Linked DNA regions of Homo sapiens: all the other regions are linked to region 3. Evidence: promoter capture Hi-C in 16 types of primary human blood cells and fetal thymus (Javierre and others, 2016). All regions are on one chromosome and are shown on one strand. Each heading gives the region's core, a stretch centred on a gene start or on the middle of the fragment in contact. The rest is flanking DNA. Distances are from core to core; before and after follow the strand shown. Region 1 overlaps SLC22A5 (solute carrier family 22 member 5). Region 2 holds the start of SLC22A5 (solute carrier family 22 member 5). Region 3 holds the start of AFF4 (ALF transcription elongation factor 4).

Region 1 (3,660 bases), core at 1-2,500, 570 kb after region 3:
TGATTTTATTCTCTTTATTAATTGAGACAGCCTGGTAGACAGTAAGAGACTCAGTGAAGACCCCAAACCATAGATGCACATGGTCCCTACCTGGGGGTACCAGCTGCATGAAGAGAAGGACACTGCCACCCAGGAAGAGGGCAGTGGCCATGGAATAGCGCCGGGGCAAATATTGCAGCAGCAGCCAGGCCAACACATATGCTGGGACTTCAACCATCGCTGAAAGGAAGCAGTTCACAAAGATGTCCCCATGCAAGTTAGGAGTATCAAGCGAAAGCCCAAAATAGCCCACTGATATGGTCATCCTGAAACAGAGTGCAGAAGAAAGCTGGAAAAGCAGTATCCACATCTTTCCCAACCTGTACAACTTTTACAATGCAATTATTTCAGTAAATTCCAAACCATCTTTAAGCAGAGACTAGTAAGGCAGCAGTAACTGTAACCCTGCGTCTTACTTCATAGATCAAAAGATAATTTTCCCCAGCCCAAGTGGTACAGTGTAAACCCTGCGCCAGTGCGCTCTCAGAGCCTTCCATATAGACAGTGTCCCAGCAAAAAAGCTTGTATAATTCAGATAGATTTACTTCATTGAAAAGAAAAATTCCAACCTGCCTTTCAGCTTTAAAAATCCTAAGCTGAACCTCCTCAAATCCAGCAACTGCAGAAGGAGCTAGAGAATGAGTCAGGAGGCAGACATCAAGTGAGGTGTGATAGGATTTGGGGGATAAGATAACAAAAGGAACAACATTAGGTCAAACACTTGGAGAGAGACCCTCACACACTACCTGTGGTGACCAGTCAGGAAGAGGCTGGTCAGAGACAGCTGACACCAGCCCCGCGGTACTTGTGGAGCACAGAGGTGGCTCCCAATGGAGGGGCCACACTGCCTCTCATCAGGATGCCCTGCAGTACCCCTGACCTGGGCATCCCCAGTAGGCATTCTCTCTGTTGATGACCCACACTCTTTGACAAACCAGACCTTTATGGATTAGACTGTTTTGACTCATCTGCAGGTGGAACACACAGCTGGTACAATAAAAAGAGTATGTGCATGAGTCCCCAGGAAATCCAGAGCAGGGAGGAGAGCCTGGGTGAACACAAAAGTGGGTGACTCATCACAGGCTTGCATGTCTGTGGTGCAGGCTACATGCTGCTCCTGTCTTGAGGCCAACTCAGGGAATGGTGAACTGCCTGGAGGGATCCTGGGCCATTCCTTGGAAGCGGGTGACTCATAGCACTCCCTCAGTAGGCACAGTGGCTGACTGCCTCAAAGCTGGATGAGACTAGTAATAAGGACTCTGAGATGAAGTCCGCCCTCCTCGCCCATCTTCTCACCGCTAACCCACCAGGCTCCAGAAGTCGCCTAGAATCCCAGGGTTCGGCCGCTGAGCAAAAGCTAGCGATGTGCACTTGGACATGTTTCCTCTCCCTGGTAATTCACAAATCCCTTTCTGACATACTTTGCCTCATTAGTGGGAACCTGGTAAGGACATCTAGGCTATAGCCCTGACTCCAGGACCGTTTATGGACATCCCAGGAGGAGCACATCCCACTTCCACATTTCCAGAAAGTAACTGGCAGCCTCTGCAGCCTACAGGACATGGTGTCTTCACTCAGATCCTTCTTAAAAGCCCTACCTGGCCTCCTCAGCCACTGTCGGTAACTGGGTAGGAGACGGGAACTAAATGACCCAAATTGGGCAAGGATTCATCTTAAGATCTGGAGAGATTCCCCACAAGAGTCCATATTTCCCACAACAGCCTCCACAATTGTTTTCATTCTCCTTTTCTGAGGTTCCATCCCATTAAGAATTGTGACATGCCCATTTTTTCCATCTAACACAAGACATATCCTTTTCACTCTCTGATGACATAGGCTTTGAATTTTGTCTGAGGCATGTCTGTAAACAAGAGGCCCAATGGCCACTTCAAGAAGCTTTGTCTGGAAGCCTCAGGCAGGTCTCTTTTACATACCACAGCATTATGGACATGATGGTGACCATCCGGATATTCCAGGTTCGAAGCAGATCCAGAATGTTGTGGGACTGCTGCTTCTTGGAACTTAGGTCTTGTAACTGCAGGAACAACATCATAAGTGTATGGGAAGAAGAGGTGGTCAGAGACTCAGAGCACACAATAACATACTTGAATCCCTGGCATCTTAGCTGTCTGCATCTCAGCGTCGGGGAGTGTTACGTTTCTAAGAACAGTAAGTATACTGACTGTGTTTTAGGCTGTGAAAACTTCCCTAGGCCTTGTCAGTAACAAATCAGAGTGAATGAAAATGAGGAAAAGTAAGTGACCAGTCCCTCAAGGGTACAGGAAGACAGAGGCCCAGGCTGACAGCTTCCTCACTGCACCCCCACATATTCCTGTCGGTGGCCACATTCCAAGGAGGCCTCTAAGTATTCCTCCCGAAGCCTGGCTCCCTGCCCTCTGGGTCAGAGAGAGTACCTGGCTGTGTGGTTTATTGGTCTGATATTTTTTAAAAGTTAATGTTTTGAGTCCTTATACTATGTAGTTACTGGTGTGCTTCCAGGGAAAAAGAATTCAAATAGAAAAACAGGAAAATTGACCTGAGCTTCACCCAGAGTGACTTCCTATGAAATTCAGCACAGCCAAGGCCATTAATAAACCACACGTCTAAACACACTGATGTTGCTTTCTTAAGCAAACCCAGGTTTGGAGCTTGTTTTTCCAGAGTTAGAAGTTCAACAAAAGGTCAACTTTGGACTGAAAGTATCCCCTGAAATAGCCTCATTTCCTCAAAGATGCCAGTGGGGCTTATGCATTCACCCAGATTGACCCCTCACTTAAAAGCCCCCAAAACCACCTAACTTAAAAGCCCTCTGCCACACTCCTGCCTGACCTTTGCGCACAGGACCCCTTTCTGGTGCATGCTGACAGTGGCTGCTGGGCCACCACTCACTGGGAAGTCTGCAGGGCTGGCAGTGGCCATTGGCCTCCGCTGTCTACAATAACTGTTCCCTCTTTTCCAAGCCCAACCATGCCTGCCTCTCACACTTCAGCAGGGCTGCTTGTGGCTGTTCCCACACCCAACCCCTCATCTTCCAGTCAGACCACAGACACATTCCAGAACCCCACCAGGCAGCATTTACAGCTTCTAACCTCTCATAGTCACGAGACCAAGGAAAACTGCCTGCTACAGAGATGGTAGGAGAGGGAACGGGAAGGAAAAGCAAGAACCAGGAACTAGGTAGAGCCAAGAAATGAGTCATGGTGTGTGAGAACAGGGCTGACGGGAGGGGTGGGGTAGGGGGAAGAGGTGGACATCAAAAAGGACCTGACTCCAAGATGATATGCAATAATTAACCATTGGAGGGCAGAAAGAGACTAAACACTTTTTTTTTCTTTTTAATGAATAATTGCTAATACTCAAGAGATGAAATACTTCTAACTCCAAATCTATTTGTGCTTTACATTTTACGTTTGGGGTTAGCTTTGTAAGGTGACAAGCCACCTTAGGTATAAGAAACAATGATTTTCCCAAATGCTGACTTTATGAAAGGCCTATTACTCAAAAAGAGTATTTATTGTTAGAAGTAATGGTTAAAATATATGATTGCCTAGAAAGGAAGTAAAAAATGAAAATCTGAAACCCGTGGTGAAAAGAGTGAGGCAGCTGTAACCTATTCCTCAA
Region 2 (3,747 bases), core at 890-3,389, 590 kb after region 3:
ACATCCAGCAGGGCTTGAAGCTGTGCCAGGGCCTGTGGCACTCTCCCTCTCTATGAACTCTCCCCTCTCTGTGAACTCCGCCGTCCTGCTGGGTGGTTTCTTGCTGCTGCACTGGGGCCTTCAGCTCACTATTATGCTGAGCTGAACACCCTAGGCTCACGGAGAGGCCTCCTCTTCTGGGAAGCCTTCTCTAACCTGCGAATTGGTCATCTGCACATTTAGTGAGCCTATCTATCAATGAGGGCTATTCACTGGCTACTTACTCAATGCTGCTGAAACTTCAGGGAGCTAGAGTGCCAGTGTCTAAAAAAGACACAAAACACATACATCATTAACATCATGTTCCTACATCCAGCTCCAACAACTGCTCCAACAGGTTCGGAGGGGACAGACAAAACCACCCAGAGGGAAAATCCAAGGGGATGAGAAATGAGAAAGGCTCCCCTACACCCTATGACCTAAGGCTGTATGCTTTAACTAAATCTGGCCGACAGCCTTGCCTCATAATACCTGAGAAAATATTCCAGGTCAACAAGTCACCCTGAACCCATCTTCAGATGAATGGATCTTAAAGAGTGACAACTGACGGCCTGGCGTGGTGGCTCACGGTTGTAATCCCAGCTTTGGAGGCAGAAGCAGGCAGATCACGAGGTCAAGAGATCGAGACCATCCTGGCCAACACGGTGAAACCCCGTCTCTACTAAAAACACAAAAATTAGCTGGGCGTCGTGGCTCACAGCTACTCGGAGACTGAGGCAGGAGAATCACTTGAGCCCGGAAGGCGAAGATTGCAGTGAGCCAAGAACGCACGACTGCGAAGGTTGCAGTGAGCCAAGAACACACGACTGCGCTCCAGCCTGGTGACAGAGGGAGACTCTGTCTCAAAAAAAAAAAAGACTGACAACTGACCATGGGAAAAGGCAAACAATTACTTACAGGGCATGACCAGATTGTCGTTTTTGGGTTGTGGACGGTAGGGGAAGGAGTAACTAGAGGAAAAAGGGAAGAGGCAGTTGTATACACATGCTTTATTTAACTTTTAAAAGTTCAGGAAAGAGAAGTATTTCTTCTCTTCTAAAAAGAAATCAAGAGACTAGAGGAAAAACGGGATAGCCCCTGGCCCAAGTCCTGGCTCTGCTACTTACCACCCCCAACCCCAACTAGAGTAAGTCCTGGACACACAGGGCCATAGAGCATCGCCCAGGGACCGCCAGGACCTTCCTGGTACCCTCTTCAAAGTGGCCATCAGGACGGGAGGCCAGACTGACCACCTGTGCAGGGAGGAGCACACTGTGGCTGGAGGTCACCTCGTGAAGCGTTCCCAAGCCACCTGGCTGGAGGGTCTCCATCGCTAGGGTGTTGACCGTTGGGGGAGGGGGAGTGACAGCGTCCAGTGCGCATCTGGGAGAGAGGAGCTCGGGTTCAAGGACCGCGACAGGTCCTCCGAGCCCTGGTCTCAGCCCCAGCAGGGGCCGGCACCCACCTCGGTCACAATGGTGGACAGGTAGACGTCCTGACTGAACTCCCAGCCATCCAGACAGCTCTCCTGCTCCAGCTGCCCCAGGTCCACGTCGCGCCCCGGCTCCAGCCCAAGCGCCGAGAAGTTGGCGATGGTGGCGAGCCGGTAGCGGCGGCAGCTGTGGGGCACCTCGCGGCCGTCCCGCAGCCGCAGTGGGACAGTGTGGTTGCGCCAGGCGCTGCTCAGGTTCGCGGCGTCCGGCACCCGGCAGCGGTGCTCCGGGGTCGCTATCAGGAACACGGAGGACAGGCCGGTGAAGCCATTGGGGATGATGCTGGCGCTGAGCAGGAAGAAGATGAGGCGCTGGAAGGGCCCCCACTCGCCCAGGAAGGCGGTCACCTCGTCGTAGTCCCGCATGCCGCCCTCAGAGGCCCACAGAGCGCGGCCTGGGGTCGGGGAACGCGGCGGGCTTTGCGCGTGCGCGCGGGGCACCCGCCGCCGACCAGGCAAGCCAGGCAGCAGGCGACCCAAGACCGTCCGCGGAGGGTAGGCTCGCGAGCTGACACCGCCGCCTTGGTCCTGCCGCGGCTGGCCTTACATAGGGCGCACGACCAGGGAAGGTTGCGGGCCTGGGCCGCAAGGCGCGCCCCGCTGGCAGGCAGAGCGGCGCCGGCGAAGGCGGAGCTGGGGCGGGACGCGAGGGCGCGGGGCGGGCCGGGAGTGCACCTGAGGCCCGGGCGGGGCCTGTCCTGGGGACCTGGCGAGGCCCGGCCTCTGCCAGCCAAGCCTGCTGGGGACGACCGAGGTAGCCCGGGCTCGGCTTAGGAAGGCAGCGGGACTCGAGGCCTTGGGGTCCGAGTCCGAACTCGCTCCTCTAGCGCCGGGCGGGGAGCGAGTGGGAGAGCGGCCGCGAAGCTCCAGTGTTGAAAACGCACCCCTCCCAGCTTTTTGCAAGGCCTACTTGGGGGCGGAGGTAAGGAGAAAGTCACTGGCCCAGGGTCTCACAGATAGTTGCTCTTGACACCGCCTAATCTTATAAGAGGGACGGGGATTATTTTGAACCTGGGACTGTTAACTACCCTAGTAGAGAGGCTGGGAGCTATGACTTTTCATTCTAGTCCAGATGCCCTTTCCACATTTTCGTCTGTAACAAGCCATTTTGTTCATGCAGATGTAAAAATTTAACTTCACGATTAACGATCCTAGCCTAGGGTTAAATATTCCCCACAGATTAGTTATTTCCGTGCAGAGTTTATTCAGAAGCTAACTGGAAAAAAAAAAAAAGCAGCGAGGTGATTCTAAAGCAGCAATGTTCCATAGGATAAGGAGCTACATTTGTTATGTTAACTTTTCTAGTAGCCATATTAATAAAATTGCCAGATTTAGCAAATAAAAATATAGGACTCCTAGTTAAATTTGAATTTCAGATATAGAATGAATAATTTTTAAATATTATGTCCCAAGCAGGAATATATAAAATAAAAATGTAACTGGTTGTCCTGTATTTTATTGGGCAATGCTGCATATTTAAAAAGTAAAAATAAAAGATGAAATTAACTTTAATGGTATATTTAATCAAGTATATCCAGAACATGATCATTTCATCATATAATCAATATAGAAATTATTGATATTTTACATTGTTATATGTAAATCATTGATCTTTTTTTCCCCTCCTCATACTAAATCTTAAGAATTCAGTGTGTTTCACAGGTTCTCAGGATTTGAAAAAAAAAAAAAAAGGAATCCAGTGTGTATTTTACAGCACATTTCAATTTGGACTAGCCACACTTTTTATTTTTTAATATTTATTTATTCATTTATTTATTGGAGACACGGTCCCACTGTGTCACCCAGGCTAGAGTGCAGTGGCACAATCATAGCTCACCGCAGCCCTGAACTCCTAAGCTTAAGTGGGCCTCCTGCCTCAGCCTGCTGAGTAGCTAGGACTACAGGCACATGCCACCGTGCCCAGCTAATTTTTTTATTTTTTTTATTTTACAGAGACAAGGCATCCCTGTGTTGCCCAGGCTGGTCTCAGACTCCTGGGTTTAAGCAATCCTCCCACCTCAGCCTCCCAAAATGCTGAATTACAGACGTGAGCCACTATGCCTGGCCAGACTCATTTTTTAAGTGCTCAGTAGCCACATGTAGCTATTGGTTATCTTATTGGACAGCACCATTCCTAAGGCCTTTAAGAATTTGGGCTGCTAAACTTAACAATGCAAGATATTCCTTTTTAAAATAGTAGTGGCTTAGTGATAGAAACAGAACTAAGTGTATATTTT
Region 3 (3,966 bases), core at 392-2,891:
TAGGGGATTGGTTAAATAAATTAGGATGTTTGCATAAGTGGAATATTATTCTGCCTCTAGGAAGAAAAAGGTAGTTCATTATATACTGATATGGCAGGATGTCCAAGACATTTTTTTCTTTTTTCTTTTTTTGAGACAGGGTCTCACTCTCATCCAGGCTGGATGGCAAGCTCCCGGCTCACTGCAGCACCGACCTCCTAGGCTCAAGTGATCCTCCCACCTCAGTCTCCAGAGTAGGTGGGACTATACGCATGCACCACCACGCCCGGCTAATTTTTGTATTTTTCATAGGGATGGGGTTTTGCCATGTTGCCGGGGTTGGTCTCAAACTCCTGGTCTCAAGCGATCAGCCCCCCTCGGCCTCCTAAAGTGTTGGGATCATAGGCCTGAGCCACTGTGCCCAGCCTATCCAAGATATTTGAAGTGAGAAAAAAAGGACTGAACAGCGTATATAGTGTGTTACCTTTTGTGTAAAAAGAAGTATCCCTATATTTTAATGTATTACTTACAAATATGTAGGGAAAGATACATTATTAAATGCTAAGTGATTGCCTTCCAGGACTGAAACAGCTAACAGACAGAGATGGGAGAATCAATTATTTTTTATTCTGTCATGTTTTGAGTTTTCTATTAAGACATTTCCTAATTTATATAGCTCTATAGAGAAAATGCATATAAAGAGTGAAGCTTAAAAGAAATAGTAGATGTTTAGAGGTGAAAGAAGTGTTCAGAATGATATGCTGAAGAAAAACATTAGTGGGCCGGGTGCGGTGGCTCACGCCTGTAATCCCAACACTTTGGGAGGCCCAGGCGGGTGGATTGGTTGAGGTCAGGAGTTCGAGACCAGCCTGGCCAACATGGTGAAACCGTGTCTCTATTAAAAATACAAAAATTAGCCGTAGGTGGTGGCTCCCCCCTTTAATCCCAGCTACTCCGGAGGCTGAGGTACTAGAATCGCTTGAACTCGGGAGGCGGAGGTTGCAGTGAGCCGAGATCCCGCCATTGTACTCCAGCCTGGGCGACAACAGCGAGATCTATCTCAATAAATAAATGAAAAGGAAAACATTAGTGGCAGAAGATGTTTAAATGACGAAGAAAGAGGGACGGTTTGGCTTCTTAGGGTAAGTTTACTGGAAATACCGAACAGCCTCCTGCGTCCTTTGCCTTTTTGCTGGACCTCTTGAGGACTCGAGGCTTCGACACCTGGAAGCAAGTCTAGGAAGCTCCGGGTTGGGCCGGATCCCCACCAGAGGCGAGGGGCGGAAGGCCTGGGTTTGTCACCTGAGCCCCAGAACCGGCATATCCGGTTCGGCCCGGCCCCGCCCTTCGGAACCTCACTAGCGGGCTACGCGCAGGAGGGCGTGAGCTCCCGGATGTGCAGGCCCTGTACTGCCGTGGCAGCCCTGCCGGACGCGGCCGCAGTGCCCAGAGGCTCAGGCCTATACCGCTCGGGCGGGTCCTTTGCCTGGCCCGGGTCATCAGACCCCACAGCCGGGAACGTCACCACCCCGGGCGTCGCCTCCCGGCCCAGCCGGCCCACAGACCCCCGCCCCCTACTCCCCCAGCGGGGAGGGGCGCAGAGGCATCACGTGACGCCCCGCACCCGCCCGGTCTTGGTCACATGGTGGCACGGCCGCTGCGTCAGTCACAGCCCTGGCTGCAGGAGTCCAGCTGCCGTCGCCGCCGCCAGCGGACGGGGCGGGGATCCTGGTGCCAGGTCTTCGTTAACCCGCCCCCGCCGCCTCAGTCAGCTGTCCCAGCCCGGGCCCGACCGTCATGGAGCGGTGCGGGGCCTACGCCTGTTCCGTGTGAGGCGCATCGCTGCCGCCGCCGCCGACGCCGCCTTCGTTTGTCGAGGCCTCCGGAACCCCCGCCGCCTCCCGGAGCCCCTCGCCCTTGGCAGCCTGTCACCGCCCCCTGGGCGGGCTCGAATGCGCGTCCGGTGAAGGTGCAGGCCCGGCGCCGCCACTGCCGCAGCCAGGAGATGGTTCGGGCCTAGCGGAGCCGGGACTGGAGGTAAGAAGGGCCGACAGACTGACCCAGGGCCGGGCCGGGCCGCGGGGGTTGTGGCCGGGGCCGGGTGGGGGTGGGGGCCCGCAAGTTCTGCGGGGAGCCTCGGGGAGACCCTCCGGGCTGGGGCTGCTCAATCAGGCGTCACCCCTCCTCTCATCTGCGCGTCCCACCCCACCACCTTCCCGCAAAGATAAGAAAATAAAAAAAGCTAACCCAATCCTAACAAAAATTCCCAGAAATCCATCCGTTTAGTGTTTCTCCTTTCCTCTTTCTTTCCTCAGACGTTCCATCGGCTGATTTGTTACTTTTTCATATCCTCCTCAATTTCAAATTATGTCTAATTAAAGAGAAAATAGGCCCAGATTCTGGCTAACATTACCCAGCTAGTTCTCGCTTTCCTTCTCGCGATCCTGCGCACCTCTCCCACACCCCCACCCCCGCAAAAAAAAAAAAAAAAGAAGGAAAAATTTCCGCCTTCGACTTGCGAAGGGGATTGACTAAAAATGGGAACGTGGGGGTATAATACTCGAATACCCTCCCCTACAACTTCTGAATCGGTCTGTTACCTAGTTATCCCAGTAGCTTGTGCGTGGATATTGATGTTTAGGCCTTTCCTCCAGCTGCCTGTGCTTGGGGTTAATCTCGTAATTGACGTCAGTGCTTTGTTCCTTCTACTTTGCTGTTCCTTCCACTCTTTGAGGATGGATCATGGAGTACAGGAGTTTTGGGAGTAACCTTATTGCCTTTTCGTTTACAAACAGTATTATTTTCAGGAAGTGGAAGTACGAATCTGAAATGTTTGTATATGGAGTTCAAGGCGAAGAGTTCGATTTAGGGTTCTCGTAGTTTTGTCAGTTGTAATTCAGAATTATGCGGTTTCTTCCCTGCTGGCCACATGGAAATTTTATACTAAGGCCAGTCACTTTTCCATTGACCAGTGTTTTTCTTGATGGAATCTAAGCTATAGGTGTCTGTGAATAGACTGTAAATGTAACATAAAATGTGTGCTGTTTTTCGGGCTCAGATATGAAAAGCGCAAAGCTTCGTTTCTGTATTGATTCTGCACTTCATAAAGTGCTTTTTAAAACTTAACTGGTCTTTAACTTATCAAAATTGAAATATTTATGAGAACTTTCTTAATTTGGGATTTGATAAAGAGCCTTTGTGGTCTGTGAGTCTGCCTAGAATCATCTTTGGTCATACGTGCATAAAGAAGTGTTGGCAAGTGGCCACTTGGTTTTCAACAAAGCTGGCTTCTTTAAATTTCTCAGATTCGTTTTCCTTATTATCACTGCATCTTTCAGCTCCTAAATATAAGAAAAATTCCCAGTAAGTTATTTTAAGTTATCTTTCAGAGTTAACTTACTAAAAACCTGGAAGCAGTCAAATTTTTCTTTTTTTATTACCAGCAGTTTCATTCAATTTGCGGTGGTTTGCAGGCTGGTACTTTGATTTTTGTTAACTCTCTAGAAACAGTAGGCAAATTTTACTTTAAATAAAATTTTGCTTCAAGTGGGGACAAGATGGGGTGTCTGAAAAAAGAGCCCAGCTGTGTTAATTGGAACATGATCTACAGTTTGGGAGTGTAAGGTGAAGCTGTGTAATTAAGAATTCTTAAAGATTGAATATTTTTGTTCTGAGTCACTTTCTACTTGTCAGATTCTCACATTCAGGTTGATACATTCTCTTCTGTGTACTCTTGAGTTATTGTACCCTTTTTGTAGCAATATATTCTGCAGCCGGGCCTGGTGGTTCACGCCTGTAATCCTAGCACTTTAGCACTTTGAGAGGCCGAGGTGGGCGGATCACCTGAGGTCAGGAGTTCTAGACCATCCTGGCCAACATAATGAAACCCCGTCTCTACTAAAAATACAAGAATTAGCCAGGTGTGGTGGTGCACACCTGTAGTTCTAGCTACTTGAGAGGCTGAGGCATGAGAACCAAATTAGCCAG

The links. Contacts are between HindIII fragments. The CHiCAGO score rates a contact against its expected background, and 5 or more counts as called.
Region 1: a contact is called between a fragment that was not itself captured here and the fragment with the promoter of AFF4 in region 3, in 2 of 17 cell types (monocytes and fetal thymus). The highest score is 5.1, in monocytes.
Region 2: the fragment with the promoter of SLC22A5 here is called in contact with the fragment with the promoter of AFF4 in region 3 in 1 of 17 cell types (activated CD4 T cells); the score reaches 6.8 in activated CD4 T cells.

The regions. Positions count from the first base shown.
Region 1 is chr5:132,387,335-132,390,994 of GRCh38, reverse strand. It overlaps SLC22A5 (solute carrier family 22 member 5), which reads right to left. Exons shown (of 10, transcript NM_003060.4): 6 at 1,974-2,074; 7 at 91-305. Among named protein-coding and RNA genes, the nearest start is that of MIR3936HG, 19 kb to the right of the region's middle. The HindIII fragment of the contact is 1,375 bases long and covers 563-1,937 here.
Region 2 is chr5:132,368,102-132,371,848 of GRCh38, reverse strand. It overlaps SLC22A5 (solute carrier family 22 member 5), which reads right to left and starts at 2,139. Exons shown (of 10, transcript NM_003060.4): 1 at 1,484-2,139. The coding sequence starts at 1,876. MIR3936HG (MIR3936 host gene) reads left to right here and starts at 1,933. Exons shown (of 8, transcript NR_110997.1): 1 at 1,933-2,005. RefSeq lists a silencer at 1,937-2,256. The HindIII fragment of the contact is 8,292 bases long and covers 1-3,369 here.
Region 3 is chr5:132,961,309-132,965,274 of GRCh38, reverse strand. It overlaps AFF4 (ALF transcription elongation factor 4), which reads left to right and starts at 1,641. Exons shown (of 21, transcript NM_014423.4): 1 at 1,641-2,016. It overlaps AFF4-DT (AFF4 divergent transcript), which reads right to left and starts at 1,463. Exons shown (of 2, transcript NR_186175.1): 1 at 1,141-1,463; 2 at 585-1,034. RefSeq lists a silencer at 1,347-2,186. The HindIII fragment of the contact is 2,367 bases long and covers 690-3,056 here.